6 separate regions of the Homo sapiens genome follow, and all the other regions are linked to region 4. Evidence: promoter capture Hi-C in 16 types of primary human blood cells and fetal thymus (Javierre and others, 2016). All regions are on one chromosome and are shown on one strand. The core of a region is centred on a gene start or on the middle of the fragment in contact, and the rest is flanking DNA. Distances in the headings are between cores, read along the strand shown.

Region 1 (4,460 bases), core at 536-3,035, 180 kb before region 4:
AATCGCGCCACTGCACTCCAGCCTGGGTGACAGAGCAAGACTGTCTCAAAAAAAAAAAATGTTATTTCCTAAATAATAAAACTTGACAGTTGAAATTACTCCTTGATCCAAGGGCTGCAGAATGCGTGTTGTGTGAGCCAGCATAAAAACATTAATTTCCGCTCCATCAGAGCTCCTGGATGACTAGGTACACTGTAAATGAATGGTAATATTTGGAAAGGAAGCTTTTTCTTCCGAGCAGTAGGCCTCAACAATGGGCTAAGAATATTCAGTACATCATATTGCTACAACAGATGTGCTGTCATCTAGGTTTTCTTCCATTTATAGAGCACAGGCAGAGATTTAGCATCATTCTTAAGGGCCCTAGGATTTTTGGAATGATAAATGAACACTAGCTCCAATTTAAAGTCACCAGCCACATCAGGCCCTAACAAGAGTCAGTCTGTCCTTTGAAGCTTTGAAGTCAGGTATTGACTTCTCATATAAAAGCCCTAGATGGCACCTTCCTCCAATGTAACGCTGTTTCATCTACATTGAAAATGTGTTGTTTAGTGTAGCTGCTTTCACCAGTTATCTTAGCTAGCTAGGTCTTCTGCATAACCTGTAGCAGCTTCTACAATAGCACTTGCTGCTTTACCTTGCACTTTTATGTTATGGAGAGGGCATCTTCCCTTAAACCTCATGAGCCAACCTCTGCTGGCTTCAATCTTTTCTTCTACAGCTTCCTCACCTCTCTCAGATTTCATAAAATTGAAGAGAGTTAAGGCCTTGCTCTGTATTAGGCTTTGGCTTAAGGGAATGTTGTGCCTCGTATGATCTTTGATTCTGACCACTCAAACTTTCTCCCTATCAGGAATAAGGATGTTGCTTTTTATTTTTTTCTTTTATCATTCACGTGTTCACTGGAGTAGCACTTCGAATTTCCTTCAAGAACTTTTTCTTTGCATCTATAACTTGGCTAACTGTTTGGAACAACAGGCCTGCATGAGTCCGTTTTGTGCAGCTATAAAGGAATGCCCAAGGCTGGGTAATTTATAAAGAAAAGAGGTTTAATTGCCTCACAGTTCTGCAGGCTGTCCAGGAAGCATGGCACCGGCATTTGCTCAGCTTCTGGTGCGGCCTCAGGGAGTTTTCAATCATGGCAGAAGACAAGACAGGAGCAGGCACGTCCTTTGGCAAGAGAGGGAGCAAGTGGGGAGGAGGTGCCACGCTCTTTTAAACAACCAGACCTTGAGTGAACTCAGAGCAAGAACTCACTTATTGTGAAGACAGCACCAATACGTTCATGAGGGATCTACCCTGATGAACCAAACACCTCCTCCCAGGCCCATCTCCAACAGTGGGGATCACACTTCAACATGAAATTTGGAGGAGACAAACATCTAAACCACATGATGGTCTATCCTGGCTTTTGACATGTCTTCCTCATTAAGCCGAATCATGTCTAGCTTTTGATTTAAAGTGAAAAATGTATGACTCTTCCTTCACTTGAACACTTAGAGGCCATTATAGGGTTACTAAATGGCCTTATTTCAATATTGTTGTGTCTCAGGGAAAAGGGAGGCCAATGGAGAGGGAAAGAGATGGGGAAACAATGGGCAGAGGAGTCAGGACACAAACCACATTTATGGATTAAGTTTGCCACCTTCTATGGGTGCTGTTTTTGGTGCCCCAAAACAATTACAGTATTAACACCAAAGATCACTGATCACCATACCAGACATAATGATAACAAAAAAGTTGTAATGTTGCAAGAATTACCAAAATGTGACATGAAGTGGGTACATGTTGGAAAAACGATGCTGATAGATTTACTCAACACAGGGTTGCCACCACCACCAATTTGTAAAAAAAATGTGGTATCTCTAAAGCACAATAAAGCCAGACACAATAAAATGAGGCATGCATGTATTTGCTACAATAAAAAGTCAATCTTTAAATTAAACAACTCACTCTTAAACAATCAATGGTCAAAGAAGAAATCACAAAGAAATTTTAAAAATATCCGGAGACATATGAAAACACAACATACCAAAACTTTACAGGAGGCAGTGAAAGGGGTACTAAGAGGGAAGTCTATAGTGATCAAAGTTTTCATAAAAAGAAGACAGATCTCACATCAGCCTCCTAACTTTATACTTCAAGGAACTAGAAGAAGAAGATAAAACCAAAAGTTGGCAGAGCGAAGGAAATAATAAAGATTAGAGCAGAGATAAATGAAGTGGAGAATAGAAAAACAATAGGAAAAAAATCAACAAAACCAAGAATTGTTTTTTTTAAAAAAGATCAACAAAATTGAAAAACCCTTAGCTAGACTAACAAAGAAAGACAGAAAATTTAAATAACTAAAATTAGAAATGAAAGGACATTACAACGGATATAACAAAAACGAGAAGGACTATAAGAGACCACTGTGAACAAGCATATGCCAGCAAATTGGGTGACCTAGAGCAAATGGATAAGTCCTAGAAACACAAAGCCCACCAGGACTGAATCATAAAGAAGCAAAAAATATGAACAGACCTAGAACTAGTAAGGAGACTGAAGCAGTAATCAAAAACCTCCCAACAAAGAAAAGTCCAGGACCCAATGGCTGCAGCGGAGAATTCTATCAAACATTTAAAAAAGGATAAATTCCAATGCTCCTTAAACTCTTCCAAAGAATTGAGGAGGAGGGAACACTTCCAAATCATTGCATGAGGCCAGCATTATTCTAATACCAAAACCAGACAAAGACACAAGAAAAGAAAACTATAGACCAATATCCCTGATGAATGCTGATGAAAAAATCCTCAACAAAATACTAGTAAACTGAAAACAACAGCACATTAAATGGATTATATACCATGACAAATTAGGATTTATATTTGGAATGCAAGAATGATTCAACACATAAAAATCAATCAATGTGATACAATATTCACAGAATAAAGGACAAAAACCACATGATCATTTCAACTGATGCAGAAAAAGCATTTGACAAAATTCAACTCCTTTTCATGATAAAAAAACACAACAAACTAGGAATAGAAGGAAACTACCTCAATGTAATAAACGCCATATTTGAGTGGCCACAGCTCAAATAATACTCAATGGTAAAAGACTGAAAGCTTTTCCTCTAAAATTAGGAAGAAGGCAAGATACCCACTCTTGCCACTATTATTCAACATAGTACTCAAAGTCCTACCCAGAGCAATCAGACAAGAGAAAGAAATGAAAGGCATCCAAATAGGAAAGGATCCAAAGTAAAACTATCGGTCTACAGATGACAGAATCTTATATTTAGAAAACCCTAAAGATTCCAGAAGAAAACTGTGAGGACTAATACATAATTTCAACAAAGTTTCAGGTACAAAACCAACACACAAAAATCAGATGCATTTCTATATAATAACAATGACCAAGCTGAAAAGGAAGTTAAGAAATTAATTCTATTTACTGAAGCATCAAAAAGGATAAAATACTTAGGAATAACTTTAACCAAGGAGTTAGAAGACTCATACACTGAGAACTACAAAACTTTGCTAAAAGAAAATACAAAAAAAGAGAAAGACATCCTATGTTTATGGATTGGAAGACTTAATATTGCTAAAATCTCCATGCTACTCAAAGTGATATGCAGATTTAATGCAATCTCTATCAAAATCCCAAAGGCATTTTTTTGCAGAAATAGAAAAAAACTATCCTAAAATTCATATGGAATATCAAGGGACCCTAAATAGCCAAAACAATCATGAAAAAGAAGAATACAGTTGGGGGCCTCCCATTTCCTGATTTTAAAACATACTAAAAAGCAATAGTAATCAAGATGGTAGGGTATTGGCCATAAGGACAGATGTGCAGATAAATGGTACAGAATAGCCACTGATGGATGAATGTATAGACAAAATATGATAAAGATGGGGATAAGAGACACTGGGGACTCCAAAAGGAGGGTGGGAGAGAGGTGGGTAAGGGTTGAAAAACTTCCTATTTGGTACTATCTTCACTATCTGGGTAACAGGATCAACAGAAGCCCAAACCTCAGTATCACAAATATACCCTTGTAACAAACCTGCACACATACCCCCTGAACCTAAAATTAAGATAAAAAGCAAAATATGATATATACACACAATGCAATATTATCCAGCCTTAAAATCAGTCACATGCTACAATATGGATGCATGTCGAGGACATCATGCTAAACAAAGTAAGCCAGTCACAAAAGAACAAGCACTACTTAGATGATCCCACTCCTAGGAAATACCTAATGTAGTCAGAATCATAGCAACAAAAAGTAGAGAGGTGGTTGCCAAGGGCAGTGGGGAGAGTAGAGGGGAGTTACTATTTAATGGGTCTAGAGTTTCTATTTTGCCTGATGAAAAAGTTCTAGAGATCTGTTGCACAACAATAGATGCGTGAATATACTTAACACTACTGAACTCTTTTTTTTTTTTTTTTTTTTTTTTTTGAGATGG
Region 2 (4,014 bases), core at 934-3,433, 240 kb before region 4:
CTCTCTGCTCTCCAGGGAATGGTCATTAGTGTAACTGACAAGAAATAGAAACATGTTTCCCAATGGACCTGCTCAAGTTAGCAGGCGCTGACAGGTATCAGATGGCTTTCTAGGAAAGAGGCTGCAGATGAGGCCCTCGTGCCTTCAGCAGACGTTCAAAATAACTGAGAAAATGGTGAGAAACACAAGATAAGATGCAGAACACTGGCTAAATTAACAGAAAGAAATGTGATACTGAGGAGGTTATGAATGAAAGGCATTCCAAGTCAAGCTCCTTCTCAACATGGACAAAAGGCTGCCAAGGGGGCTGAGCAGTTGTCTGTTTAGGGTGAGAAGTTATGAACGTGGTTCAGAGACAACGAAAAAACATCCAAAAGAGATGCTCTATCAGATCTTCTAAAGCTCGAGGACACGTCCCACTGTGAGGCAGAGTTGACGCTGTCAATAAGGTTATAAAATAGAAGATCCCTACAGAGACCAGCAGCTCAGAGTCAGCCACGTATTTCCCAGAACCAAAACTCCAGTTTCCAAGAGTGTCAGCATAGCCAAATGGCCTGTGCATGAAAGAAACAGTATTTCCCACAACATAATCATATAATGAAAAGGCAAGACAATCCCCTACCCTGTGGCAACAAGCACTCCTAACACCCATATTGTGATCTCCTCCCTTCAGATGAAAAAGGAAGGAGGGCCTCCTGAGAGAAAGGGCTATAGGTAAGAAATGTATACAAGGATCCTGGAACAACTTGTTATGCCAGAGAACAAGTACTAAAGGCTCCTGAGGTCACGTCAAAAGGACCCAGGAGCCAACTAGAGTAACTTCCACCTAATATAACAGACAGGAACACAGCAAATAAACTTCAATCCATAATGGCACCAAAACTACACCACTACCCACCACCACCACCACCACCACCACCACCACCATCACCATCACCACCACCACCACCACCACCACCACCACCACCTCCACCACCACCACCATCACCACCACCACCACCACCACCACCACCACCACCTCCACCACCACCACCACCTCCACCACCACCACCATCACCATCACCACCACCACCACCACCACCACCACCACCATCACCATCACCACCACCACCACCACCACCACCACCACCACCACCTCCACCACCACCACCATCACCACCACCACCACCATCACCACCACCACCACCTCCACCACCACCACCATCACCACCATCACCACCACCACCAATACCACCACCACCACCACCACCACCACCACCACCACCGCCACCACTACTACCACTACCACCACCACCATCACCACCACCAATACCACCACCACCACCACCCCCCCACCCCCCCCACCACCAATACCACCACCACTACCACCACCACTACTATCACCACCACTGATCGGTGACTGTTAGAGGAGCAGAAAGCAAATGTATTATCTCAGAAACTGGAAAATAAAGTGAATGAAATCAAGCATTAATTCTGACTTTCCTATATGAACTCTACCACTGGGTACCAAAATTGTAGATGAAGGAAAGTTTTTCTTCATAGAAGTACTATATCTAATAAATGAAGAAGAAAAGCTAACATTGGAAATCAATAGTTGGCAACCTTTATGGATCTAGGCACTGGGTAACAACAGCTACTAATGTCACAAAAAGTGAGAAAAACCCATTATGTGCCTCCTAAAGGAAAAATACAGCAACACATATACAGCTTGAATATGACCAAGCCTCGATATCCAGCAATCACTTTATGGGAAATACAGGGGACAGAGGAACACGTGAAGACAACACCACAAAGATGCATTCAGCAAAATCCAGTGTGGAAAATGCTACAGGACAAACGAGCCAGTTTCATCAACAAATTTACTGTAATAGAGGGAGAGAGAGAACACCTATGGATTAACAGAAACTAGTAAGTCATATCAACCAATTACCATTGTGTGGGCTTTTTTTTGCTTCCTGGTTTAAACAAATTGTTAAAAAAAAGTAAATTGAAAACTGGAACATATAACTGGCCATCTGATGATATTAAGACATCAATGCTGATTTGGGTTGGGGAGGAGACAACGATACTGTGGTTATATTAAAAATAAGAGGGCAGGTCTGTGCTGTGGCTCACGCCTGTAATCCCAGCACTTTGGAAGGCCAAGGGCAGGGGTGAATTGCTTGAGCTCAGGAGTTCAAGACCAGCCTGGGCAACATGGCAAAACCTCATCTCTACTAAAAATACAAAAAATTAGCCAGGTATGGTGGTGCATGCCTGTAGTCCCAGCTACTCGGGAGGCTGAGGTGGGAGGATTGCTTGAGCTTGAGGGATAGAGGTTGCAGTGAGCTGAGATCACGCCACTGCACTCCAACCTGGGTGACAGAGTGAGGCTCTGTCTAAAAAAAAAAAAAGGCAGAGCTGGGTGCAGTGGCACACGCCTGTAGTCCCACCTATTCAAGGGGCTGAGGCTGTAGTGTACTGTGATCACACCTGTGAGTACCCACTGCACTCCAGCCTGCAACATAGCAAGACCTCATCTCTAACAATAAAAAACAGTCATTAAAAAAAATAAGAGCTGCCAGGGGCAGTGGCTTATGCCTATAATCGCAGCACTTTGGGAGGCCGAGGCGGGCAGATCACTTGAGGCTAGGAGCTTGAGACCAGCCTGGCCAATCTGGCAAAACCCTGTCTCTACTAAAAATACAAAAATTAGCCAGGTGTGGTGGCGTAAGCCTGTAGTTCCAGCTACTCAGGAGGCCGAGGCAGGAGAATTGCTTGAATCTGGGAGGCAGAGGTTACAGTGAGCTGAAATCATGCCACTGCACTCCAGCCTGAACAACAGTGCAAGACTCCATCTCAAAAAAAGAAAAAAAAAACCCCAAAAAACACAAAAAATAAGAGGGCAGTTCTTCTAGCTGTGGCCAAATGAGAAGGTTGGCCAATCCTCTCCCCATAAAGCAATTATGAAATTCTATAAAACTGACAAAAACAACCATTTCCAGACTCTGTAAATTGAACAAGACATGAAAATCTGAGAAGTGTTGTTTATTTGAAAATCTTCTCAACTTCAGGTAAAAACAGGGTGAATCCATCATGTTCTTCCCTGGGCTGCCCTCACTCCTTCGCAGCAGCTGGGCCAGCACAGCGGTCCTGGCAGGGAAGAACAGGCTCTGAGGACCACGCGGCTGTGGTAAAAGGGCTCACTCCATATGGAGCCCTGGGCAATAGTAGCACTGGGATGGAAGTGACCATCTCTAGGGCAGTTGGGTGGGGAGGGCCAAGGTTTCTACTGGCTTGAGGTTACGGTTATTGGATGGGTGAGCGCATTCCTGGCTGACGGGAGGCTGGTGCATGCACAGTGGAGGCAGGAAAGGATCCTGCCTATTCAGACACCCTTCCGGCCAATCTGAATCTGTACATGTGCATAGAGGAGATGTAAAAGGGTGAGTGGAAAGTAAAAGCCAGGCCGACATGGAAACGGCCTGAACTTTGAACATGCCCTTCAACCTGCCCACAGAGCCACTGGCAGAGGACGGAGCCTTACTGGCTTAAGTTATTTGTGCATAACCTCTGCCCAATCATTCATTCAAACTACATGAAGCAAAAATAGAGTTGAAAAGAGAAATTTGGTGGCTCCTGCCTGTAATCCCACTTTGGGAGGCTGAGGCAGGAAGACTGCTTGAGCCCAGGAGTTTCAGTTTAGAGACATAGGAATACCCTGTCTCTAAAAAAAATTAGCTGGGTGTGGTGGTGCCTGCCTGCAGTCCCAGCTACTTGGAGGCTGAGGTGGCAGAATCACTTGAACCCAGGAGGTCAGGGCTGCAGTGTGCCGTGTTTGTGCTAGTGTACACCAGCCCAGGTGACAGAGCAAAAAAAAAAAAAAAAGAAAAAAGAAATCTGAATAGACTTGTAAGAAGTAAAGAAATTGAATTAGTAATTAAAAACCTTCCCACAAAGAAAGGCCCAGGTAGTTTCACCAAATTCACATACATTCTGTCAAATATTTAATATAACACCAACTTTTCACAAACT
Region 3 (4,143 bases), core at 454-2,953, 160 kb before region 4:
AATTTTTAAACTTTTTATAGAGATGGGGTCTCATTATGTTGCACAGGCTGGTCTTGAACTCCTAGCCTCAAGCGATTATCCTGCCTCAGCGTCTCAAAGTGCTGGGATTACACAGGCATGAGCCACCACACCCAGCCTAGAACTGTGCATTTCTATGACATTTTTGGGTTGTTCGTGCAGACAGCAGCTTCTAGAGAAGGCACACACGCTCACTGCTGGGACTCAAGCACATTTATTGTGGCTGCCAGCACAGGATTGAGGAGGAAAAAGTTGGTCTCTGTAGTATAACCTTGCATTTTCAAATCAATATTATAAAACAACATACAGAGTAAGGCAAGACTGGCCTGCTCCCTGCATTCAAAAACTTTAGCATCACTGTGGTCTCAGTGGCTTTAATAAAACTGCACAAATCAGAATATTTAAATTATATTGCTGAATTTATATAGGAAAAAGTTTGATTTTAATATTTTAATAAAAACCCCCACCACCTCAATATTTGCCTTCAAATACAAATGGTTAAAAACTGAAATGTCAGATCTGCTTAGGAGAGCCCCCATTTGTGAGATTTGCTGAAGTTTTCCCCATGACATAATCCTAGTGCTTTTCAGATCCTGCCAAAATCATTGCTTTAACCTGTAATGGATTTTCTTACTTCTGTTTCTGCAGGTAATTAATCTGAAGAATACGACTGGGAGACTTCTTGGCAGCAGCATGAGCTGTCTGAGGTTCTTAACCTTCTTGTGTACAGAAAAGACCAGTGTTGTTCAAATGACTTTACACTTCAATTAAGCTGGGGGAAAAACTGATTAGCATAATGAAGAACAAAGCCTAAAGCTTGCTTTAACCAACACAAACCATTTGAATCTCTAAGCATTTCATAGGATTCCACAGCACAAGATGTGAAACTTCATCTGAATTTCATCAAAGAAAACCTCAGGTTGGGAATGCAGCACCAATAAAACTTTAACAACTTATTTATTTTAAAGTCATTTTTGCTCCTATACCTCTCAAATCTATCTGTGGAGGTCATTAAAACAGTGTCAATAATTGAGCTTTAGCTTTTTTTCCCCCAAGTTTTTACATTCTTGTCTATTATCACTTTACAGTGTTAGAGGGAGGTTTGAAGAAGACAATATTCTCTAAACTTTTACCTCTTGGGTTTTCTAAAACTTTTGTGTGAACTGGAGCTCCGGTTGGGCTGGGCACCTGCTCCTTTCCTGATCTGTTTACACATGGCAGTGTGTAACTGCGTCTATGGGGCGGTGTCTCTATCTCAGTATTGGGGAACGATCTCCCACGTTGTGATCTCGCAGCACATGCTGACTCTATGGGCACAGGGTAGACAAGATTTAATCAGAGGGAAAACTGAACACCCAGTGGTGCGAGGCATTGATGCAGATGTCTTAGCTGGCCAACCACTCTGAAAGCCACTCTGCAGCCTCTGCCAACAACCCTTCTCAGGGCTACACGTTCCAACTTTGTGGCATTTTGTCAAGGGCCAAACACTGTTGAGAGTAGTCTGCTAAGGGTTACCTATACTGCCCTGTCTGGGTCCTGGGGCTTTAGAGGCACAAGAGAGAGAGCACTGATTTGGGATTCAAACTGAGCAGTAGCCAATTCCTAATCTGTCCCCTATTAGCTATGTGACCTAATACCACCTGCCTTCTGACGTTCCTGTGAAGATGAATGTTAGCGTGTATGAAACTTCTAATACTATGACGGCATACAGACACTCAACACAAATGGTACTTGAGCCTTACTAGAATCCATTGTTATGAATATTCCTGTTTTGTTTATAAGAGCAAAAAGCAAACATTGATCTTCAGTGAAATCAACGATTAACAATAATTATTGAACAAATTCTGCAAATACTGTGCAGGTCTCTCTCTGCAGCACCTCTGGCCAAGTTGAGGAAATGTGATGTTAGCCTTAAGATAAGGCATGGTTTGATGCCACACGAGCCCTCCCACTTGGCAGCACACGACCAGTGGCAAAAGGACAGGCCAAGTGTTACCTCTCATAGCCTCCAGCTCCAACTTGACTCTCATGAGAACCCAGCCAAGCACTGGCTTCTTTCTGAGTTTCAAGGGATGCCATGGGTCTGGGCAGCCCCTACATCACCCGCAGTTTCAGAAGCAAAAAGAAGACCTTGTAGCTCTGCTTTTACCATAGGTCCTCATGTAGCTATTTACAGATCTGACTTTGAAGTTTAATTACTTTTTCTCTTACTGTAAAAAACAGAACAAAAGGGTTTCCGGTAACATGATGTGTTTCACTCTATTAAAAGGTGAGAGAAGCATGCTTTTTTCTCCATTCATGTGATTATCTCAGTATCCAGGGATAAGAGCAGGCTCTTGACTCTGTAAATCTTCCAGTAATACTAAGACATTGTTATCTGAGTGCTATTCCCGGAGGTTAAAGTGGCCTAGTAATTTTAAAAGGTTAACTTAGAATCTGTTCCCTTTATCGTGAGATGTTCTTATTTTCTTTAATTATTTAAGATAATGATAGCACCAAAACAATAATAGCCACCCTTGATTCACCAGCCGCTGTATGTCAGGGCCTAAGCTTTGTGGTGCAGTGTCCCCATGCCCAGTGTCCCCACGCCACACAGCGCCCTCCCACAGAGGTGCCACCCTCATGCCACAGATGAAGTAGGAGAACCTGAGTTTCTGGTCCACCTTGCCTAAGGTTGCACGGCTAGAATGTGGCCAGCCGAGGGTGAGCTGTGAGCCTAGGCTCTTTTCACCATATGAGTTCTCCATCCAAATGACAGGTATTAATTCCAGTGAGATTTCTGTGGTACTAAGTAAAATACACATAGAATTTTTACATCATTTTGCCTTTTCCAAAATATTACACAAATGCTATTTAGAAAAAAAACTTACCAGATTTAGTAGTTTAAAACCAATCATTTAAGCAGTAACAAATAATAACCCTTTGCTCAATAATTTGCAGATAAACATTTCACATAAAGCAGACTTTCCATATTATACGTTGTTCACGGAATAGTTATACTCTATTGTCATATTCGGAGTCATCCTATTAGTATCCAATAGCAAAAGAAACATACAAGCAATCAGTACAGAGAAGCAATTAACTGTCATTGCTCTGCCACTTGCGGGCCTGGATTTCGGCCTTGCTGTCAGATTCGCAGCCCTGCGTACCACTCCTGGCTGGGCTCCAGCTTTATTTCTGTTCTCAGACTCCCAGTTCTCCTTGGATCATCTGGGTCAGTTAGGAACCCTGTGTCCTGCTCACCTCCAAGCTGGACCTGCCACAAGAGCTCCGGCTCTGACGTTCATCACTTCATAGAAAATGACAAGAATCGATCCCACCTCAAAATAAACCTGTTTCAAATGAAGCTCAAGAACTAATGTTCACATAATTGAATCTTAAAGAGCTCTACAACAACCTTTGCCTGATATAAAAATTTGTCATCGAATATTGATTAAAAGAACTTCAGCAGAGCCTCTTGAATCTGGAAAGAAATGGTATAAAGATCTTTTACAAGCCTTAGGTTGGATAATGGTGGTGATGGAGATGAGAAAAAATACTCAAGATCACCCTAAGAGGCAACATGTGACTGTGTTTACCTTGGATGACATGGAGTTTAAAGGAAACAAACTTTCAGTTTAATTCTGTACAATGATATTGAGCATCCTTCTGGGGCAGACCTAGTGCCGGGCAATGCGATCTTCCCAATCCAAGGGCACTCAGTCTAGCAAGAAGAGACTGGCCAACAAATAACCATAACAGAAATGTAGGAACACAGATGAGGGATCAAATCAATAGCCCCCACCCTGCCCCAACTGTTATATGCCAGAATCACAAGCTTGCCAGAAAGTAATATGAGGACTAGACAGATAAAGATCAAAACACAGGTGAGTACAGAACACAACTTCAGGCCCGTTACTACGTTTCAATTAATGAATTGTAATTGAAAACAAAAGAGGAAAAATAAGAACAATCATCTGTAAAAAGACTGGCCATTGAAATTCTCTAGTTGAGTATTTAAGGGAATTTGCTAATTACCTTATCTTGACCTATCCTGGACTCTCATTTCATTTTGCCTAACCACAGTTATGAAGTCAACAAAGACATCCTGTGGAGCCCTGGAGACTTTGAAATCTTTGGAATGTT
Region 4 (4,316 bases), core at 740-3,239:
GAGTTTATGAGAAGACCAAGTAACGATGAAACTTATCAGAACAAGCACCAAACTCATTCAATTCTAAGTGCTGATGGCTTCTCTGAAAACTTGAGAGGGTGATAGTGTCCACCACGGAACTCACGGGAGATTTCCACCATTCAACCTTGAATTGCTATTCATAGAGTGTCTACTATGCATGTACAATGTGCTGCTACATGTCGGAGATGCAGCAGTGACTGAGACAGACAGGGGGCCCATGGAAAAGAGACACTTAGGAAAAACTTGCACAAATAATTGCCCAATTAACATTATGCTGTAAAGGAAAATTACAGTGATTTCAGGGTTTATAAAATGAACATAATATTTTTGGGGGAGCAGGAGGAACCTCCCTGAGGAGTTAGCATTGAAGCCAAACCTGGAAGGCTGGGGGAAGAAGCATCCAGGTAAAGTAGAAGGCAGAGGAGCTAAGCAAGGAGAGAGAGAGAGAGCACCAGAAGGGCAGAGAGCCAGCAGGGAGAACAGGTGCCTCCCTATGTCACCAGCCACAGAGATCTTTCCTGAACCCATCAAGCAGAGATTCAGGCTTCTAACGCCAGTACATCTGGCTTGTGCTGGAGATGGGTGCCTTCCAGAATATTCATGTCCTGAGATTTTAAAAAGTGTGTCTAATACAATTGTTTATTCATTCATTCAACAAATATTTATTGAGATCTGCAACACGCCAGGCACTGGGGATACACAAGCGAACACAGAGTGTCCCTGTCCTCCCGGGGCTCACATTCTAGAGGGGGAGACAGTCAACAGGTGAACAGACAGTCAACAGGTGGAAAGAAGGTAACCTCAGAGGTGATGGCCCCTGAGAAGTCTGGGGCTGGGTGGTCTTTACACAAGGTGCTGGGCAAGGCCTGTTTGAGACAAGCAGAGGAAGAAGCCCGCCAGGCCCAGGCTTGAGAAAAGGACCCGGGGGGAGGGAAGCTGCGGGGGGGGCGGGGGGAGGGGGAGGCTGGGAGAAGAAAGGCTGGGGGCAGTAGTGAGAAAGCAAGAGGAAAGAGCAAGCTGCAGAGTGGGTTCTGAGTGCTCGGCAGGGGCCTCGCGGGCCATGCAGCCGACTTAATTTAGAACTGCATTTAGTTGTCAAGTGATGGGAAGCCCTTGGAGCAGGGAAATGACACATTTAATTTAAGCTTCACAAAGCTAAGCTGGGGGTGGGGGGGGGTTGGCAAGTTGAGGGGGGTGTAAGTTGCGTGGGGGTGGGGACCAAGAATGCAATTGTAAGTACTAAGGAGAAGACAAATGGGGTGTCCCAGAACAGAAATACAAGCAAAAGGAAACATGACTGAAGTACAGCGTGCTCCAATCCAGGCTGACCCTGTCCAAGTCCCAAAGTTAACAGCGCCCACTTTGGAGGCAGGCTGACCTGGGCTTAAATCTAGGCTTACCAACCGTGTGACCTTGGGCAGGTGACTTCGCCTCTGAGCGCCTCAGTCTCCTCGTCTGAACGATGGGTTAACAATAGCGCCTACCTGAAAGGGCTGTGGCTGCCATCACGTTTGTGGGGCCCAGCTGTGCGCGGTGGGCGCCCAGCAGCTGCTGCGGCTGTGAGTAATTTGTTACTAAGAATAGTTAGCGCCCCTCTCGGGGCCGCCGACTCCCAGCGGCCGCGCGCACTAGGCGAGGCCGGACCCCCGGCCTGGACGCCGGCTTAGACGCTGTCCCCAGGCCCCCAGTCCCAGCACCCCAGCCAGGCCCCGCCCCCAGCCCCGCTCACCTGGGCCGCGGCGGCCCGGGGATGTGCTCGTAGCGGCTGCGAGCGCGGTGCACGAAGGTGCAGCAGAGGCCGAAGGCGAGCAGGACGGCGCTGCCGAGCAGCAGCAGCCCGGGGCTCATGGCTCCGGGGCAGGGCAGGCCAGGCCAGGGTCGGGCCGGGCGCCGAGGGGGCCGGGAGGCCGCGAGCCGACTCAGCTGTCAGCGCCGCGCGCCGCCTCGGCCCCAGGCCAGGCGCGACCCAGCACCCTCCCCGCCCGCTCGGCTCCGCCCCCGCCGACTCCGACCCCTCCCAGGGCGCACAGTCCCCGCCAACCACGTCTCCGCCTCCGGCTCCGGCGCTCCGGGCCCTCCCCCGCCCCGCCCCGCCCCCCAGAGCTCCGCCCCAACCTCCACACCGCCCCAGCCCAGGCCCCACCCCGAGCATGTGGTCTTCACCAATCACAACTCCGCTTCTGGCTCAGCCCCCCAGGCTCCGCCCCCACCTCTTCAGACTCAGGTCCGCCCCAGCAGCAGCTCCGCCCAGAACGCGTTGTCCCTGGCAACGCCGATCCTCAGCGCTCTGGCCCGGCGGCGGCGCGAAGTCCTGCTGGCTGGCTCCGCCCGCTTCGGCGCCTCCAAATAACGGCATCTTTCCGCGCGCGGTCTTAGGCCCCTTCCTTTTTCCCCCAAACCTGCCCGGAAACCCCATCCCAGCCTGCAAAAGTCCGCATAACGCCGACTGTTCCCAAACTTCTCCTTGGAACCCCAGACCCCCAAAGTTGTTCTCCAGTTGCCCCGGGGCGCCTCCTCCGCCCGGACAGTCCACGCCTAGCGCCCGTGGTCCGCCAGCGGGGCCCGCGGGCTGGTGGCAGGATCCTGCGGGACCCAGGGACGCCTGTGTCTGCGACCGAGAGCGCACGGCGTGGCCGGAGGCTGTTCTCCCAGAGACTCGGGGGCCTGCGGACCCTCCTAGACCAGGCGAAGCCCCATCTGAGGCGCTGGCTCAGGCCCGAAGGAGTTGGAGTTGGAGGGATGAAAATCTGGGTCCGCCCTCCAGGGAAAGCGGGAAATGTGCCGGGGAGGCGGGGGTAGCGGAGGAGAAGGTATTTTCGAAATAATGACCAGGGCTTCCCCCTCTGTCGTAACCCGCGTCTCCTTGCCCATCCCGTATGAAGATGAGGCCAATTCTGGGCGTTTTAGTTCCCAATTCCTATCCCGAGGGACCACCCAGCGTGAAAGTCGTGGCAGGGGAAGGCCAGGTGTGCCCACTCCTAGCCCAGGTAAAGGTCCCCCGGGCTGGAGGTAGAGGCCCAGGGAGTGTAGATGCTGCTGGGTTTCTGAGAAGAGGCAATGCCCCTGCCCCACGCTTGAGCCAGTCCTGGAGAGGTTGGGGGTTGGAAAACGAAGGGGACCTTGGTACCGCCTTCCCAGGTATAGTTAGGGACATGGGACATGGCTGTTAGGGGTGTGGGCTGAGGGGCGACGGAGACGGCCAAGTCTTAAGAGCCGTGCCCAGCACGGAGGAGGCGGGACTTCTGCCCTCGGGGCCACCGCAGCCTGGACAGGTGGGCAGCAGAGCATCCATCCCCCCGGCGCCTGGCCCGGCCGCCCAGTTGGACTCGGGGATGTTGGCTTGCTATGGCGCCCCCGTGTGGCGGCGGTGACAGGCAGCCGCAGGCCCACAGGGTAACTCAGGCTGGCCCTGCTGGGGTGAGGTGTGGAACGGAGCCACCAGGTCCCCTGTGGGCTGTGAAAGCTCCGGGGCTTGAGGGCAATTTGGAGGGAGGATGAGGCTGCAAGAAGGAGGGTGTGGATTCCTGCGCACTGGAAGGTGGGTTGGGGTGGTTAGCTAGAAAAGAAATGTGACGGCATCACATTTAGTATCCAGTTTGTGGAACGGCTCCCTGAGATTACACAGTGCATCGCACTGTCTGAAGAGGACTTTCTCTTGCCTTGTCTCTCCAGACCCCTGGAACAATGGTACTGTTAGCAACAGCAAATCCATATGGGTCTGCAGCAGCCTCAGTTCTTGCCTCCTCAGAAGAAAGAATTCGACTGAGGGGCGTAAGGCAGAGTGAGAGGCAAGTTTTAGAGCAGGAGTGAAAATGTATTTAAAAGTTTTAGAGGCCGGGCGCAGTGGCTCACGCCTGTAATCCCAGCACTTTGGGAGGCCGAGGCGGGCGGATCACGAGGTCAGGAGATCGAGACCATCCTGGCTAACACGGAGAAACCCCATCTCTACTAAAAATACAAAAAATTAGCTGGGCGTGGTGGCGGGCGCCTGTAGTCCCAGCTACTGGGGAGGCTGAGGCAGGAGAATGGCGTGAACCCGGGAGGCGGAGCTTGCAGTGAGCCGAGATTGCGCCACTGCACTCCAGCCTGGGTGACAGAGCGAGACTCCGTCTCAGAAAAAAAAAAAAAAAAAAAAAAAAAAAAAGTTTTGGAGTAGGCATGAAAGGAAGTAAAGTATACTTAGAAGAGGGCCAAGCAGGTGACTTGAGAGAGGCAAGTGTGTGGCTTGACCTTTGACTCGGGGTTTTGTAGGTTGGCATGCTCCCGGGGGGTTGCATCTCTCTTCGCCCCTGATT
Region 5 (4,076 bases), core at 869-3,368, 220 kb before region 4:
CTTCACCTTCCCCGCCCTGCCACAGGGAATGCTTTTCTCTCTCTCCTTTTTCCCTTTCTTATGTTTTCTATTACTCAGGGCCACCATCTTGCCCAGAGACCGTAAGTTGAAGCTCCTGGTTGGAGGCTGGATTAACAACGATGGGGCCGACCAGGGGCATGTCTGAGCCCTGCCAGTTTGATTTTGGGTGCTGGGTGCTGAGCTGAATGGCTAATATCTATGTTTTGTCACACATATTTTGCTCTGGCCAGGACAGAAAAAGATAATTTTCCTTTATGATGTGGCTTGGCCCCTAGGGCTGTGGTGCAGCCAGCTGGATCACTAGGGCCGCCTCAGGGAAAGGGAACCCAGAAGCCTGGCATGCCAGCAAAATGGTAAGAATTTCTTACCAGTCAGACTTCTGGCCTTTCTCTCTCTCTCTCTCTGCAAACTGGCTGAATGAATGGTAAAAATCACTATTTATCTCCTGTAAAGTTTTGATTAATGGGAAAAAAGGATTTGTGAGGGTAATCTTAAGCTGTAGAAAATCTGTTGTGCTTTGTGTTATAAATTTGTCTTCTATATCATTCTGTCATAAAGAGGGGTACCATAGGATAGAATGTGGGCCTAGGACCCTATAAGCCCACTGTTCAAAGTAGCACAGCAAACTGGTCAGTTATAAATTTTGTGGCAGGTTCCTGAAAAAAAACTGGATAAAGTTTCTCTCTTATCTTGTTTCGTGTGCTTGGGAGCTTGACCTTGTAACACGTGGCAGTACTTTATCTTGGTCTCTGCCATCACAGTGGCAGCCTGGGATCAGGGTTCAATTCCTGGCTTAGGGAATGAGTCCTTTATTTTCTGTCTGTGTATTTACATGTATTATGTGTGTGATGTTTATATATGAAAGAGCTTTGATTAATTGGTGTAATAATAATAATAAGCTTAAATCAAATATTTTGTAAGAAAAGTAAAAAGTGTAATGCCTTTCAGTTCACATGAATTAAGTAATTTTTGGGAAATAAAAACTGTTTTATATGTAAGGTGTATAAAGAAAGTGAAATGTCTTTTGGTAATAGATTATAAGAAGGCATGGAAATGTGGATTTTTTTTTGCCTAGATTAAAAGGTTAAATTATTGTTTTAAATTAGATAGAATAAAGCTCAAAGTTTAAGCAAGTTGTCGAAAGTTTGAGAGAAATTAATCTTGTAAAGAAATTCTGTGTGAACATATTGGCTAAAGTTAAAGGGGTATTAATCAGTTTTTCTGTAAATTAAACATTGGAATAAAAGCACAACAGGTTTTTCTCTGAGCAATGATCTGCTTTTCAACACAAATTGTAAAGGATTAATAAAAGGTTTATAAAAATCTTACCTTATGGTCACAGTGATTAAAATTGAATACATTGGCCAGGCACGATGGCTCACACCTGTAACCCCAGCACTTTGGGAGGCCGAGGCGGGTGGATCACTTGAGGTCAGGAGTTCGAGATCAGCATGGCCAACACAGTGAAACCCGTCTCTACTAAAAATACAAAAAAATGGCTGGGCATGGTGGTGTGCACCTGTAATCCTAGCTTCTAGGGAGGTGAGGTGGGAGAATTGCTTGAACCCGGGAGGTGGAGGTTGCAGTGAGCTGAAATCATGCCACTGCCCTCTAGCCTGGGTGACAGAGTGAGACTCTGTCTCAAAAAAAAAAAAAAAATGAATAGATTTATCTATGAGATTTTGTTAAGAATATTTAACATCAATAGTACACTAATGTAAAGGTGAAATTTGGCTTATTTGGTATAAAAGTCATACAGGAAGCATTGTCAAATAGGAAATTGGCTTTCTTTGGGCTGTATTTGTATAAATATGTTACTGGCATGTGTTCCAAAATTAGGTGAAACTCCTATAATTCTGATATGACTTAGTGTATGTTATTAATAGTTGTACTTGTTATGTTAAATTATTGTATGCTCCAGGAGTAACCAAATTTCCTTGTCAATTGTGGCTTTAATTGTGGCTGTCCTAAGACTTTCTGTCATCCACAGACAATTCTTGTCTTGTTTTGGTCCTATTTAAAAGGTGGCTTATAATCAGATATAGGCCTTTAACAGGTGCTCTTGAATGCAAGTTTCTGATTACTTTCAAAGTTGTAACATGAGAATAGAGGAAAAAACTTTCAGGACTCTCATGGGGAGCTGAAATGTTCCTGAATATCAAGCAGAACAGGAGTTAACTGCATGAACCAAACTAATAGAAGATTGAAATCATCTTTTTTGACTTTGCTTAAAATGTTGCTGATCCTTTGCTTTTTTCAAAGACAAGAAAACTTTTCTTTTGAGCTATTTAGAGCTTTTAACAATTAAGTAAAGTATACTGCTATGAACAAAATTTGAAGCATATTTGTTTCTCTCAACCTGATCTCTCCAGAATTTAGAAACTATTTGTGAGTATTCTTAATTTATGGCAATATAGTTAATTGCATAATTGTAAAGAATTTGTTTTTGTTTGTAACAGGACACAACTGGAGAAACTGGTTATTTTTTTCACAGGAATGGCATGCTTTCCTTTAAGGAATCAAATTGAATTGTAGAGTCAATAGAAGCCCCTTGGGGGAAACTGGCCTTGTACCTTGTCTCCACAGTCCCTGTACAGGGTTCCTGATCTGTGGTAAGTAAAGAATGTCACTTTCTCACAGGCCCAGGAGCCCCAAGTTATCTTGGGACCCCCCAAGAGGAGAGGAATTTACCCAACCCATAGGTATTTGAGAATATAAACCTATGGCTGGGCTTGGCTTTAAAAAAGGTCTTATCTGAGATTCCTTATGGAACAGAGTTCCATCAAAGCCAATTTAAAAAGCCTATGTGAAAAATAATTATTCTTGCTGCACTTTATACAAATAATCAAGCCAAGTATACAAGACTAAGGCTTATTTTTCCAAACTAATCAGTCCTGTTATGGTTTGTCTTTAGTAAAAATGGGAGACTGGAGACAGAAATTATGTTTCAAGAACTATGGTACATTTGTCATTAGATTCTAGTTTCATCAGTCGTTTTTAAGTTTTTTCTGCTATTTAAACTAACCCTGCTTATTCCTGTGAACCAACCAGTGATCTCTGACTGCGGCTCAGAAGAAATAAAAGCAATGGGTAATGTAAATATCTGGATCAGTATTCCAATTCTGGACACACTGGAATCAGCTAGCGACCCCATATCAGCTTGGTTCCAATAGTTGCCCAGTTAATAAAAAGCCTTCTTACTTAGTTTACTTGGGATAATTTTGTTTATTTTGTTTTACTGTTGTGGAATATATTGCTGTTGCACTCTTTGTGTAGGAATGCAGGATAAGCTTACTCAATGTTTTCTTAAGTTGAACACTTAATAATCTTCCAGATATCACCTTGCCATACTGACGTCTTCTGACTGAGCTCTTCTCTACCCCAAATACAAGAGACCCTAATAGTTAGGCAGGAATATCATCATCCCTATTCAGCCCGAAGAAGTTACAGAAGATGGATCTTTGTCCCTTTACAACCCTTAGGATTAAGGATTCTCTTATAAAAGGGAGGGGAGAAATGTCAGAGGCATTTGAACCAGAGCAACTTGAATAGGGGCTGGGGAAAATGAGGCTGAGACCTACTGGGCTGCATTCCCAGGTGGTTAGGCATTCTAGGTCACAGAATGAGATGGAGGTTGGCACAAGGTACAGGTCATAAAAACCTTGCTGATATAACCGCTTGCAGTAAAGAAGCCGGCTAAATCCCGCCAAAACCAAGATGGCGACAAGAGTGACCTCTGGTTGTCCTCACTGCTACACTCCCACCAGCACCATGACAGTTTACAAATGCCATGGCAGCATCAGGAAGTTACCCTATATGGTCTAAAAAGGGGAGGCATGAATAATCCACCCCTTGTTTAGCATATCATCAAGAAATAGTCATAAAAATGGGCAACCAGCAGACCTCAGGGCTGCTCTATAGAGTAGACATTCTTTTAGTGTTTTACTTTCCTAATAAACTTGCTTTCACTTTACTCTATGGACTTGCCTTGAATTCTTACAAGAGATCCAAGAACTCTCCCTTGGGGTCTGGATCGGGACCCCTTTCCAGTAGCA
Region 6 (4,325 bases), core at 412-2,911, 200 kb after region 4:
CTCTACTCAACAACTGACCCGGTCTCTTCAAAACAGTGTTATGAAAAAACATTTTGAGAGACTGTCTTAGATTTAAAAAGGCTAAAGAGGGCTACAACAAAATGCAATGTGTGAACCTTGATTAGATCCTGCTTTTTTTTTTTTTTTAAAAAAAAGAAATTTCAAACAATTTGGAAAAATTTAAGTATAAATTGTATATTAGAGGGTATTAGGGAGGGAATTACTGTCAGTTAATTTTCTTTGGGGGTAATAATGATATTGTGATTACACAGGAGAATGACTTTATTCTTAGCAGATGAAGGCTGAAGTATTTTGGGTAAAGTGTCATGATGTCTGCAACCTACTTTCAAATGGTTCAGCTAAAACACAACCACACAGTAAACATGGCAAAAAACGAACATGTGTCCACAGGTAAATAAGTTGTCATTGCACTATTCTTTCATACAATAAAAAGTTGGGGAAAAAGTCAGATGAGACTGAATAGGAGACCAGGAGGACTCCTTATCTTCATCAATCCCTCGATAGCCAAGGAATACTTGCTTATGTGTGGGTACTGCTTTCATAAATTACAACACTGTGATTTGAATTATAGCATACAAAAAGAAAAGTGAACTAATTATAAGTGTATGGCTGATTGTTTTTCACAAAGTAAACACACCTGTGTTAACACTATTCAGTTGAGAAAGAGAACAGTACCAACATTCCAGAAGCTCTCTTCGTTCTTTCCTAGTGACTATCCTCCCAAAGATAACTATTCTGACCTCTATTTCCATCAATTTGTTTTGCCTGTTTTTGAAGGACTGTGCGATGACACAGTACCACTTTTACATTTGGTTTCTTCTGCTCAATATTAAGTTCATGGGATTCATTCCTGTTGTTGCATAAAGCAGTATTTGTTCATTCTCACTGCCGCAGAGCAGTGGTTTTTAAACCTGGGACAATTTTGCCCCCCAGGGGACATTTGGCAATGTCTGAAGACACTTCTGGTTTTCCTAACTGGGGGGTTGCCACTGGCATCTAGTGTGGGTAGAGGCCAGGAATGTTGCTGAATGTCCTCAGTGCACAGAACAATCCCCCATGACAAGAAATTATCTGGTCCAACATGTCAATAGTGCCAAAGCTGAGAAAGTCTGCTGTACAGTACAGTTATATCCTATGAATGCAACACACTTTATCTATACATTCTACTGTTTGGGCATGTAAATGTTTCTGGTGTTTGATTATTAATAAGTGTTAAACATGTACATATATTCTTATAGAACAGAAGGCAACTGGACAGTTGGCTGAGGGAATCAATATCTTAGCACATCTTAGCAATTTATTCACAGTTGGGAATTGCTACTTTAATATACATACGCCTAACAGTTTTCCATGTACTTTTTCATTTAAATATTTCCTGAGCATTTACTATGAGCCAGGCCTTAATGGCATGGCAGGGCACAAGATAAGTAAGGTCTTTGCCCCAGGAAGCTTACATTCTAGTGGGAGAGACAATAAGAAAGAAATATATGAATATTTGTCAGGGAATCTTAAGTGCCACAAATAATAACGCATGTAAGGGGAGAGAACATAATGAGGTAAGGGCTGTTTAGAGGTATGCAGAAAGAGGAAGAGTTAGGAGATTATAGTAGCAGTTCAAGTAATGCCTAATACACCTGTCTCCACACAATGGCAGCTGGAACAAGGGGTGTGTGTGTCATAATTGGCCATGAGGCAAAGAATGGAAAAAGATGATTTCAAGTTTGACTGACACAGAGGGTGATACTAAAAAGACAAATGGATAAGACAAGAGAAAAAGCTGGTTTTGATAAGGAGGGAGGAAAAGAATTTGGCTCTATAAATACTAAGCTTGAAGAACTTTAAGATCCTTTTGTGGAAATATCTATCAGACAGATAAATAGGCCAGTTGAAGTCTCTACAGAACATATCTACTTGGGGTTCATCTACACAGAGGTGATAACTATAAAGTCATGTTGACGGATGGAGGGATGGAGAGTGAAGAAGGAAGGGGTCTGGGTACAGAACTCTGTGAACTTGTACCAAGTAGGAAGAATCACCAAAGGCGAGCGTTTGCCCAGTGACAGGAAGGTAAAACAGACTTGAATGCACTTATGATTTACCCACTTGCAGACTAAGAATCACCAAATTAGAGAAAGGGAAAAAGACTGGTCCAAGAAGTAGGGAAATTTGCATCCTTTGTTGCAAAACAAACCATGGGATGTCAGCTTTAAACCAGAGATGGTAGTCAACAGTGACAAATGCTAAAGAAAAGTTAAAGGACAAGGAACTAAGGAAAGTTTACTTTAATTGGTGATTAGTTGTTTATTAGAGACACTGAAAATTGTGATGGTTTCATGACTCTGCAAATACTAAAAACGACTGATTTGTACAGTTTAAATGGGTAATTTGTACGGTATAGGATTATATTTCAAGAAAATACATATATACACATATAAATAAAATAACATTTTTAGAAGTGCAATAGGGCAGAAGGTGTAGAAACTGCAAGGGGTGGTAAAGAATGAACAGACTAGGAAATAGGTTATTCTTTTTTATTCATTTTTTAATTTTTTGAGACAGAGTCTCCCTCTGTCATCCAGGCTGGAATGCAGTGGTGCTCACTGCAACCTCCCGCCTCCAGGGTTCAAGTGATTCTCCTGCCTCAGCCTCCTGAGTAGCTGGGATTACAGGCATAAGCCACCGTGCCTGGCTGGAAATAGGTTATTCTTTTGAGGCATCTGTTCTCAAAGAGAGTAACAGGGAATAGTAGGGAGTAGGTTTTGTTATTGTTTTGGTTTTTATATATTTTTCAGCATAAAGGAGAATGAAAAATGTCTGCAGCCAGTAAAAACAAAAAGGAATCACTAGAGGAGTCAGAACAAGGGAGGCTAACTGGTCAAGGGATAATAAAAAGCACAGCAAGAAAGTTAACCTTAGAAAGAAAGCTCTTTCTTCCCCTGAGAATGGAAGGAAAAGTTTGAGAAAGATATTTTTAAATAATCTTTTAAGGGGGAGGAAGTAACTAAAAAATCTCAAGAGTACCTCCATATTCTCTAGGAAGTATAATGCCAAGATATCTGTTGAGGGGAAAGGGGCAGAACGGGGAACAGTGTTAGGAATACCCCAGTAGGGATGAAACTGGAATGGAAAAGAACCTCGGTCCACAAGCGGATAAATCGTAAGTATATTCAATTGTTTTACCTTCTGTAACTGGCCAAACTCCTGGTCCCTTTAGGTTCCAAGGCAGAATATAAACAATTCATGAAATGTAGTGAAAATATTATGGACATAAACAGAATAGAGACAGTCCTCAAAATCGTAGAACTCCCTGAAAAAGTTTTTGCCTCAGGTCTATAAACCTGTTCCCTATTACTCTTCAATTATTTTTTCACAAGACCCTAAAGTTGTAAGTTTTCTCATTAGTAGCTTGTGATTCCTCTGAAAATGACTGAGATTTATGAACTCTGCAAAATGAAAATCCATAAACAAGCAACCTGTCAAGGCATTTTAGCAGCACCTTTCAGGAATGTGCTTCATAAATATCATTTTACATCATAAAAGACTAAATATATTTTCAACATTTAGAATTATGGAAACAATAGTAAATGTCACCACTCAATTATCTCACCCAATATCGAAATCCCCTCTTAGTAATATTTGGCCACTTATCAATGAAACCTCATTAGTTTACAAAACAGCCTATGGCATTGCTGGGTATCAATAACTGGTGTTCACATAATTCCTGTATTCCTATATTGATTTTTATCTGTCCTGTTCATCCCCTAGATCTGCTACACAGATGGCATAAAATAATGCATGAATGAAATCTACCTTTTAGCGACTCTTTAACTTCTACCAGGGTCCTTAAACTAAGCCTTGAAAATACATTTCCCTTATCTATTGATTGTCTTTCAAACAGGTAAAAGCAATTTTTACATTCTCTTCTCTAGGGTAAACAAATCTAACCATTTTTCTCATCATGATTTTTCTTTTTTTTTAGTGTTTCAAGTCCTCCCTAAATATTAGGAATCAAAACAGATATGATGTGCATAGCACATGGGAGGGGGGTGGTAACTAACATGCAGTAACATGTCCATTGTGTGTCTGCTGCGTTGCAGCATGTCTGCAAGCTAGTTTTCTTATCCTCACAATTTATCACTGAGAAAATGGAGCCAGAGACACGAAACAACCTGACTAATTCACAGCTAGCAAGCAGCATCACAACTAGTCTTACTTTATACCAAGATACTGCCTTCCCTCAATCTAGACACTGCTTTTCTTCTGTTTAAGTGGAATGTTACATCCTAGAACCACTTTTGTCAAGC

What was found. The method cuts DNA at HindIII sites, captures the fragments that hold promoters and counts their contacts. A CHiCAGO score of 5 or more calls a contact.
Region 1: a fragment that was not itself captured here is called in contact with the fragment with the promoter of CYP46A1 in region 4 in 1 of 17 cell types (endothelial precursors); the score reaches 10.0 in endothelial precursors.
Region 2: a contact is called between a fragment that was not itself captured here and the fragment with the promoter of CYP46A1 in region 4, in 1 of 17 cell types (endothelial precursors). The highest score is 7.1, in endothelial precursors.
Region 3: a fragment that was not itself captured here is called in contact with the fragment with the promoter of CYP46A1 in region 4 in 1 of 17 cell types (endothelial precursors); the score reaches 5.1 in endothelial precursors.
Region 5: a contact is called between a fragment that was not itself captured here and the fragment with the promoter of CYP46A1 in region 4, in 1 of 17 cell types (endothelial precursors). The highest score is 19.2, in endothelial precursors.
Region 6: a fragment that was not itself captured here is called in contact with the fragment with the promoter of CYP46A1 in region 4 in 2 of 17 cell types (non-activated CD4 T cells and activated CD4 T cells); the score reaches 5.2 in non-activated CD4 T cells.

Annotation. Positions count from the first base shown.
Region 1 is chr14:99,866,564-99,871,023 of GRCh38, reverse strand. The region is part of intron 3 of EML1 (EMAP like 1); the gene reads right to left. Among named protein-coding and RNA genes, the nearest start is that of EML1, 75 kb to the right of the region's middle. The HindIII fragment of the contact is 2,655 bases long and covers 458-3,112 here.
Region 2 is chr14:99,925,129-99,929,142 of GRCh38, reverse strand. All of the region lies in intron 17 of EML1 (EMAP like 1), which reads right to left. Among named protein-coding and RNA genes, the nearest start is that of EML1, 130 kb to the right of the region's middle. The HindIII fragment of the contact is 7,367 bases long and covers 1-4,014 here.
Region 3 is chr14:99,838,964-99,843,106 of GRCh38, reverse strand. All of the region lies in intron 1 of EML1 (EMAP like 1), which reads right to left. Among named protein-coding and RNA genes, the nearest start is that of EML1, 48 kb to the right of the region's middle. RefSeq lists an enhancer at 3,876-4,143. The HindIII fragment of the contact is 1,734 bases long and covers 837-2,570 here.
Region 4 is chr14:99,681,971-99,686,286 of GRCh38, reverse strand. It overlaps CYP46A1 (cytochrome P450 family 46 subfamily A member 1), which reads right to left and starts at 1,989. Exons shown (of 15, transcript NM_006668.2): 1 at 1,751-1,989. The coding sequence starts at 1,869. RefSeq lists a silencer at 1,605-2,184 and an enhancer at 3,425-3,494. The HindIII fragment of the contact is 4,802 bases long and covers 1,169-4,316 here.
Region 5 is chr14:99,901,390-99,905,465 of GRCh38, reverse strand. The region is part of intron 9 of EML1 (EMAP like 1); the gene reads right to left. Among named protein-coding and RNA genes, the nearest start is that of EML1, 110 kb to the right of the region's middle. The HindIII fragment of the contact is 2,391 bases long and covers 923-3,313 here.
Region 6 is chr14:99,484,100-99,488,424 of GRCh38, reverse strand. All of the region lies in intron 1 of CCNK (cyclin K), which reads right to left. It also overlaps a transcript of SETD3 not described here. Among named protein-coding and RNA genes, the nearest start is that of CCNK, 4.9 kb to the right of the region's middle. The HindIII fragment of the contact is 378 bases long and covers 1,473-1,850 here.